Linked DNA regions of Homo sapiens: regions 1 and 3 are each linked to region 2. The links are contacts of gene promoters, found by promoter capture Hi-C in human tissues and cell types (Jung and others, 2019). All regions are on one chromosome and are shown on one strand. Each heading gives the region's core, a stretch centred on a gene start or on the middle of the fragment in contact. The rest is flanking DNA. Distances are from core to core; before and after follow the strand shown.

The links. The method cuts DNA at HindIII sites, captures the fragments that hold promoters and counts their contacts. A contact is called where the count stands out against the background at its distance.
Region 1: a fragment that was not itself captured here is called in contact with the fragment with the promoter of IFNL3 in region 2 in 7 of the 25 tissues and cell types used here (IMR-90 fibroblasts, dorsolateral prefrontal cortex, lymphoblastoid cells and 4 more).
Region 3: a contact is called between the fragment with the promoter of NCCRP1 here and the fragment with the promoter of IFNL3 in region 2, in 2 of the 25 tissues and cell types used here (lymphoblastoid cells and spleen).

The regions. Positions count from the first base shown.
Region 1 is chr19:39,287,881-39,290,731 of GRCh38, forward strand. No RefSeq gene overlaps it. Among named protein-coding and RNA genes, the nearest start is that of IFNL1, 7.1 kb to the right of the region's middle. The HindIII fragment of the contact is 5,296 bases long and covers 1-2,851 here.
Region 2 is chr19:39,243,584-39,246,519 of GRCh38, forward strand. It overlaps IFNL3 (interferon lambda 3), which reads right to left and starts at 1,423. Exons shown (of 5, transcript NM_172139.4): 1 at 1,205-1,423; 2 at 834-911; 3 at 425-574; 4 at 241-324; 5 at 1-147. The coding sequence starts at 1,384. The coding sequence ends at 49. It also overlaps the pseudogene IFNL4. The HindIII fragment of the contact is 34,684 bases long and covers 1-2,936 here.
Region 3 is chr19:39,195,636-39,198,541 of GRCh38, forward strand. It overlaps NCCRP1 (NCCRP1, F-box associated domain containing), which reads left to right and starts at 1,329. Exons shown (of 6, transcript NM_001001414.2): 1 at 1,329-1,684; 2 at 2,418-2,480; 3 at 2,567-2,618. The coding sequence starts at 1,348. The HindIII fragment of the contact is 43,248 bases long and covers 1-2,906 here.

The sequences.
Region 1 (2,851 bases), core at 269-2,768, 44 kb after region 2:
GTTTTCTATGTAATTGATTTCTCCACCTCTTTATGATTTCTTTCCTTCTGCTTGATTTGAGTTTACTTAGCTTTTTCTAGTTTCTTGAGGGAATGCCTTGTTTAGTAATTTGAGACTTTTCCTTCATTTTTTTGTTTTTTTGAGACAGAGTCTCGCTCTGTCATCCAGGCTAGAGTGCAGTGGTGCCATCTCGGCTCACTGCAACCTCTGCCTTCCAGGTTCAAGCGATTTTTGTGCCTCAGCCTCCCAAGTAGCTGGGGTTACAAGTGTGCACCACCACACCTGGCTAATTTTTGTATTTTTAGTAGAGACAAGGTTTCACCATGTTGGCCAGGCTGGTCTTGAACTTCCATCAAATGATTCACCCACCTCAGCCTCCCAAAGTGCTGGGATTACAGGCTTGAGCCACCACATCTGGCCATTTCTTCATTTTTAATATAAGCATTAAGTGCTATAAACTTCTCTCTAAGACTGCTTTAGTTGTATCCCACAAGTTTTGGGGGAGGTTTCTTCCTGTTTTTTTTTTTTGAGACAGGGTCTCATTGTGTCACCCAGGCTGGAGTGCAGTGGTGCTATCACTGCTCACTGCAGCCTCAACCTCCTGGGCTCAAGTGATCCTCCCTCCTCAGCCTCCCAAGTAGCTGGAACTACAGGTGCACACCACCACACCCAGCTAATTTTTAAATTTTTTGTAGGACCGTGTCTCCCTATGTTGCCCAGGCTGGTCTTGAACTCCTGGGCTCAAATGATCCTCCTACTTCAGCCTCCCAAATTGTTGAGATTACAGGCATGAGCCACTATGTCCAACCACGAGTTTTTATATGTTGTATTTTTGTCCTCATTCATTTTGGCTATTTTTTTTTTTTTTTTTTTTGAGATGAAGTCTCACTCTATCGCCCAGGCTGGAGTGCAGTGGCACAATCTTGACTCACTGCAACCTTCACTTCCCAGGTTCGAGCAATTCTCCCTGCCTCTGGCTCCCAAGTAGCTGGGATTACAGATTCCTGCCACCACACCTGGCTAATTTTTTGTACTTTTAGTAGAGACAGGGTTTCGCCATGTTGGCCAGGGTGGTCTGGAACCCCTGACCTCAGGTGATCAGCCCTCCTCAGTCTCCCAAAGTGCTGCGATTACAGGCATGAGCCACCCTGCCCAGCCTAACTTTTGTATTTTTGATAGAGGTGAGGTTTCACCATGTTAGCCAGGCTGGTCTCAAACTCCTGACCTCAAGTGAGCCACCCACCTCAGCCTCCCAAATGCTGAGATTAAAGTGTGAGCCATCACGCCTGGCCTCCATCCATTTACTTTTAACCTACCTATGTCATTATATTTGAAATGAGTTTCCTGTAGACAGCATACAGTTTTTTAAAATATATTCTGCCAATCTCTGTATATAAACCATTTGCATTTAATGTAATTACAGATATATTAGAACTTAAGTCTCCCATCTTATTTTTCTTCTGTTCCTTCTGTTTTTTATTCTTGTTTCCTTTTCATTGCCCTCCTGTGGATTACTAAGCTTTTTTTTAGTGTTTCATTTAGCTTTATCTATAGTTTTTTTTTTTTTAGTATATCTCTTTATATAGTTTTTTAGTGGTTGCTCTGGAATTACAGTATATATATAACATCACAATGCAATAGTATTAATATTTTATCTCTTCAAATGGAATGTAGGAAACATCACAATTTAGGTCCCTTTATCCTCCCTGATTTATAAATATATAGGTATCTTTATTTTGTGGTGGGGGAACAAAGTCTCGCTCCATCACCCCATTTGGAGTGCAGTCACAGCTCACCGCAGCCTCATCTCCCTGTCTCAGGTGGTCCTCCCACCTCAGCCTCCCAAGCAGCTGGGACCATGGGACCACAAGCACCTGCCACCACGCCTGGCTAATTTTTGTATTTTTGGTAGAGATAGGGTTTCGCCATGTTGCCTAGGCTGGTCTCAAATTCCTGAGCTTAAACAATACACCCACCTTGGCTCCCCCAAGTGCTGAAATCATAGGCATGAGCCACCATGCCCGTCCCCACTTTCTTTCTGTTCATCCAGAACATCAGTGATGTGAGTGTTAAAACTTAATGTACTAAAGGTCCCTGGAGCTCTTTTCTTTTCTCTTTTTTTAGAGACAGGGTCTCACATTGTCCCCCAGGCTGGAGTGCAGTGGTGCGATATTGGCTTGCTTTAACCTCCACCTCCCTGGAGTTCTTTTCATTTTTAAAAATCTACTTTCTATCCTTTGTTCATACTTCAATCTATTTGCTACTTACTCTCTGTTGTTCAGAATGAGTAATTTCTATTGACCTATCTTCAAGTTTTCTGATTCTTTCTTCTGCCATCTCCATTCTGCTATTTGGCCCTTTCAGTGAGTTTTACTTCAGTTCTTGTATTTTTCAGTTCTTATATTTCTCTGTTCTAAAATTTCCACTCAATTCTTTATACCTTCTATTTCTTTGATGAAACTTTCTATTAAAAATTTTTGTGTCAGCCAGGTGCAGAGGCTCACTCCTGTAATCCCAGCACTTTGGGAGGCTGAAGTGAGTGGATCACGAGGTCAGGAGATCGAGACCATCTTGGCTAACACGGTGAAACCCCGTCTCTACTACTAAAAATACAAAAAATTAGCCAGGCGTGGTGGCAGGTGCCTGTAGTCCCAGCTACTCAGGAGGCTGAGGCAGGAGAATGGCATGAACACGGGAGGTGGAGCTTGCAGCCACTGCACTCCAGCCTGGGCGACAGAGCAAGACTCTGTCTCAAAAAAAAAAAAAAATTGTGTCAAAAGTATTCATGATTGTTTGTTGAAGCATTTTTATGACAATTACTTTAAAATTATTGTCAGAGAGCCAGGCATGG
Region 2 (2,936 bases), core at 173-2,672:
GTGGCTAATTTATAAATAAAATCTCAGGTTGCATGACTGGCGGAAGGGTCAGACACACAGGTCCCCGCTGGCAACACAATTCAGGTCTCGCGTGAGGAGGCGGAAGAGGTTGAAGGTGACAGAGGCCTCGAGGCAGCCAGGGGACTCCTGTAGGGAGGAGGGGATGGGTCAGGGGCTGTCTGGGTTCTGGGCTCCCAGTGGCTCCCCAGACCTCAGTCCCTCTCTTCCCGGGTCACTCACCTTTTTTGGGGCCTCCTGGAGCCGGTGCAGCCAATGGTGGAGGCGGCCCCGGGTCCTGGGCCCTGCCGTGGGCTGAGGCTGGATCTGTGGGCAGAGGAGGGCGGTGTGTGAGCCGGGGCCTTGGCCAGGGGAAGGACGCTGCTCAGAGCTCACAGACCTGGGTGCCCGGGCCCTGACGACTCACACAGGCCCGGAGCTGGGAGAGGATATGGTGCAGGGTGTGAAGGGGCTGGTCCAAGACATCCCCCAGGGCTGGGTCAGTGTCAGCGGTGGCCTCCAGAACCTTCAGCGTCAGGGCCAGCTCAGCCTCCAAAGCCACGGGGCGCTCCCTCACCTGAGGAGAGGTGAGAAAGAGCAGGTGAGGGGGGAGGTGAGGGGAACAGGTTGGGGGAGGAGGATAGAGAGGAACAAGTGAAGGTGACAGGCACAGGGGAGAGGGCACAGCCAGTGTGGTCAGGTAGGAGCAGAGGGAAGGGGTAGCAGGTGTGGGGAGAGGAGAGAGGGACAATGGAGAAGGAGAAGGTGAAGGGGCCACTACAGAGCCAGGTGAGCAGGGCTGGGAGGGCAGGGGTGGGCCTGACTCCCCCTCTCACCTGCAGCTGCCTCAGGTCCCAGGTCCTGGGGAAGAGGCGGGAGCGGCACTTGCAGTCCTTCAGCAGAAGCGACTCTTCCTAGACAGCAAAGGCACAGGTTAGCCCCAGCAGGAGGGGTGGAGGTTAGACCACTCTGATGGGATTGGAGGATGGCTGACAACAGGATAGGGGAGGTTAACTGCTGGGAGGATGGTAGAGGACCCTCTTCTTCAGGAAAACATGAGTCAGTCCCTGCAGTAGGAGCATGAGATAGCCCACTGCAGGGAGGGTGGAGGCTAGCCCAGTGAAGGAAGCTGGGAGTGGGAAAGCATGGTGACCCTTGGAGTGCGGGTGGAGGCTAGTCCATGGCAGGAGGGCAGGGGGAGACTCACTAAGGCATCTTTGGCCCTCTTAAAGGCCTGCAGCTCCTGTGGAGACAGGGACTTGAACTGGGCTATGTGGCAGCCCCTTGCATCCGGGAGAGCCCCGCGGAGCCTGGCGACAGGAACTGCTCCAGTCACGGTCAGCACTGCGGCCATCAGCACCAGCACTGGCATGCAGTCCCCGGTCATGTCTGTGTCACAGAGAGAAAGGGAGCTGAGGGAATGCAGAGGCTGCCCACTGAGGGCAGGGGCTGCAGGAGCTGAGCACGGACAGAGATGTGGGACTCACCTAGTTTCATTCCTGATCTCTGGTCTTTGTCAGCAGAAGAAACACTCTGAGGCTGTCACCCAGGGTCTGTTTGGGTCTTGTCTGGAGTCTCTGTTCTTTTCAGTCCCCTCTTCTGGATCTCAGACTGTGTCCTGGCTTTGACTCTTTCTGTCAGTTTTGAGCTCTGTCTGGGATGTAATTCCTGCCTGAGCTCCATGGGGCAGCTTTTATCCCTGACAGAAGGGCAGTCCCAGCTGATGTAGGAAAAGTGAAAACACAGCCTCAGGTAAGACACCGGCCACCAGGGGAGCCCCAGGCTGGGAAAGCCCAGAGCAGGGCAGGGCTAGTGAGCCAGATGAGCAGCTGGAGGGAAAGAGAAACTGATGGAGACTCAGGGGTAACCTACAGGAAGGTATGTTCCCAAGAGGATTCCACCTGCTCTGGTTTTGTTGTTGTTTAAGACAGGGTCTCACTCTGTCACTGCAGTGCAATGGCATGATCACAGCTCACTGCAGCCTCAAACTCCTGGGCTCAAGCCATCCTCCTCACCCAGCCTATTAAAGTGCTGAGATTACAGGCCTGAGCCACCACTCCTGGCATATATATATATATATATATATATATATTTTGAGACAGGGTCTTGTTCGGTCACCCAGGCTGGAGTGCAGTGCAAAATCTTGGCTAACTGCAACCTCCGCCTCCTGGGTTCAAGCAATTCTCTTGCCTTAGCCTCCCAAGTAGCTGAGATTACAGATTTGTGCCACCATTCCCAGCTAATTTTTATATTTTTAGTAGAGATGGCGTTTCACCATGTTGGCAAGGCTGGTCTCAAATTCCTGATGTCAAGTCATCTCTCTGTCTAGGCCTCCCAAATTGCTGGGATTTCAGTGTGAGCCACCATGCCCAGAGGCCAATATTTCTTAATTGCCCAGGCAAGGAAGGACTCAGGAATATGAGGCTCTGCTCAAGAATTGAGGTGTGACGAAGGACTTGAAGGACACCACGTGGGTGCCGTCTTTCTTAGGGAAGTTCAGGCAGTGGTGAAGAGCATGGGTCTTGGAGATGAAGGGTCTGGGGTTCAAACCTGGTTCTGACCCTCACTAGCCGTGTGACCTTGGCAAGGAGGGGTGCATTCAGCAACGCAGATTGCTAATGCACAGATTTGGAGAAAAAATTAATAACACAATTGTTTGTGTATTTATGTGAGTGATTATTTAATAGAATCCACTCATTAAGACCATACTAGGACCTCAGCTGGAGAGTTTAAAACGTGATCTCAACGGACACTACTCCTCCACAAGGCAAGTATGCTAACCCATCCTATAGGTGAGGAAACAGAGGCTCAGAAAAGTAATTTGCCCTGAATTCCACTGTAATTAACTGGCAGGGTCAGAACTGAAACTCAGGCCACCTGAGTCCCTGGCTCGGCCTCTTTTTTTGCTGTAAGGTGCACCTCACAATCATCATACGGAA
Region 3 (2,906 bases), core at 79-2,578, 48 kb before region 2:
GGCCAAGGCAGGTGGATCACTTGAGGTCAGGAGTTTGAGACCAGTCTGATCAAGAGGGTGAAACCTCGTCTCTTCTAAAACTACAAAATTAGCTGGGTGTGGTGGCACATGCCTGTAATCCCAGCTACTCGGGAGGCTGAGGCAGGAGAATCACTTCAACCCGGGAGGCGGAGGTTGCAGTGAGCTGAGATCGTGCTTCTGCACTTCAGCCTGGGTGACAGAGTGAGACTCCATCAGAGAGAGAGAGAGAGAGAGAAGCAAGCGCTCAGTGCTGAGCTTACCTGGGCCAGGTAGAGGGATGTGGCCACGGGCAGGAAGTGGCTGTGGGAATCTGGCGCTACAGGTTCCTCTGCCACCCCACTTCCTCCACACCTGACCTCCTGTCCCCACCTGTGCCCCGTCCCTTGCTCCCACCTCCTCGTGACCTCTGATGGGGGAGGCTTCTGCAGCCCCCCACCCCAGTCCCAGGCAGGGGTGCAGGCCCCCAGAACACCCAGTTGGGATCACTGCTTCCCTCTCACTGCCATCTTTGTGCCTCCCTGGGGTCCCCCATCTCTGAGGCTCCTCATCTCTGGTTTTGGGTGTCTCTCTGCTCTCCTCACCTTGGTTTTCTGGACAGTATGTGTCAGGGCCCCAAGGGGGTGTCCCAGGTGAGGACAGAGAAGGAAGTGGCAGAGGCAGGACCTTCCCTTTGCACCTCAGCTCATCCATCCACTCCCCCTCTGCAGAGTGGGGAGGGGGAGGAGGGGGGTCTTCGTTAATTAGCCTCTTAATCCTGCCATGCTGGATCTTAATGAGGTGCACGGGTCCCATTAGACAGCCCGGAGCCCTGGCATTAGCACATTAGTCACACGCTCTGTCAGGCTCACGCTGGGTCCTCAGCTGGCCCTGGGAAAATTGGGGCAGGAAGTCTGGGGACCTAAGGAGGGGGCTGGTGCCTGGACTTCTGGGTCTGAAGAAGGAGGGGCTGGTGCCTGGACTCCTGGATCTGAGGGAGGACGGACTGGGGGCCTGGATTCCTGGGTCTGCGGGAAGAGGGGCTGGTGCCTGGACTCCTGGGTCTGAGGGAGGAGGGGCTGGGGTCTTGAATTCCTGGGTCTGAGGGAGGAGGGGCTAGGGGCCTGGACTCCTGGGTCTGAGGGAGGAGGGGCTGGGGTCTTGAATTCCTGGGTCTGAGGGAGGAGGGGCTAGGGGCCTGGACTCCTGGGTCTGAGGGAGGAGGGTCCGAGGGACAAGATCCTCCCCCGACACGCCCCTCTCTTAAATGTCAGCCAGGGTGCCCTGCCCCTTCCCGCTCCCAGTTAACCCCAGCCCTGTGAAACCGGGACAGTCGCGCAGCCTCGAGGGATGGAGGAGGTGCGTGAGGGACACGCGCTCGGTGGCGGGATGGAAGCCGATGGGCCCGCGAGCCTCCAGGAGCTGCCTCCCTCGCCACGGTCGCCTTCACCGCCGCCGTCGCCGCCACCACTGCCCTCGCCGCCGTCGCTGCCATCGCCCGCAGCCCCGGAGGCCCCCGAGCTCCCCGAGCCGGCGCAGCCGTCCGAGGCTCACGCCCGGCAGCTGCTGCTGGAGGAGTGGGGGCCGCTGAGCGGGGGCCTGGAGCTGCCCCAGCGCCTCACCTGGAAGCTGCTCCTGTTGCGGCGGCCGCTCTACCGCAACCTGCTGCGCTCGCCCAACCCCGAAGGTGCGCAAGGGCCCAGAGCAGCCAGGAGGCACCACCCTGACCGTCTGTCTCTTCCTCTTTCCCTGTTTCCTTATCTCTCTACCTCTTTGTCTCTCTCTGTCTATGCATTTCTCTGCATCCCTCTGTCTCTTTTTCTGTCATTGTGCCTCTCCATTTTACCACCTGTCTCTCTGTCATGTCTCTTACCTACCTCTCTCACACCTCTCCCTCACACCTCTCCATCTCTCTTTCTCTCTCCTCCTCTCTCTCTCCCCCTCTGCCTATGTTTCTGTCTCTTGAGACGGAGTCTTGCTGTCGCCCAGGCTGGAATGCAGTGGTGCAATCTCAGCTCACTGCAACCTCCGCCTCCCAGGCTCAGGCAATTCTCCTGCCTCAGTCTCCCGAGTAGCTGGGATTACAGGCATGCACCACCATGCCTGGCTAATTTTTGTATTTTTAGTAGACACAGGGTTTCGTCATGTTGGCCAGGCTGGGCTGGTTTCAAACTCTTGGCCTGTCTCTTTCTCTGGGTTCTTCTCTCTGTCCCTCTGTCTCTGTCTGTCTCACCACACCCCACTTACCCCTGGCATTGCCCTCTCCCCAGCCCAGAGCCCTGACTCACTCATCCCTGCCGGGCTTCCCTGACCTGGCACAGATTCCTGCCCTTCCAGTGTATAGCCCTGCGGGTAGGGAGGGGTGAGGCGGTGGAAGATGGAGGGGCTGCCCAGAGGCTCCACTCACCTGTCCATTTCAGGCATCAACATTTATGAGCCAGCACCCCCTACTGGTCCCACCCAGCGACCCCTGGAAACTCTGGGTAAGTGCTTGGAGGGCCAGGTTGCTGAGGGTGGGGAGGGTCCTCCAGCGTTGGGGTGTCCTAACCCTTTGCTCCCCAACCTGCAGGCAATTTCCGTGGCTGGTACATTAGAACTGAAAAGCTCCAGCAGAACCAAAGGTGAGTCGCCAGGGCCAGTGTGGCTTACACTCCATTCCCTGCTCCACCCTTCCTCACTGTGAGACCTGGAGAAACTGACTTGGCCTCTCTGGACCTCCATTTCCTGCTCTGTAAACAGGGTTAGCATAAGAGAGAATGCTTGTAAAACACACAGCATAGGGCCCGGCCAGGTCTGGCTAGCACCAGTCAATAGCAGCTATTATTGGTTTTTGGTTTTTGTTTTTAAGATGAAGTCTCACTCTGTTGCCCAGACTGGAGTGCAGTGACGCAATCTCAGCTCACTGCAAC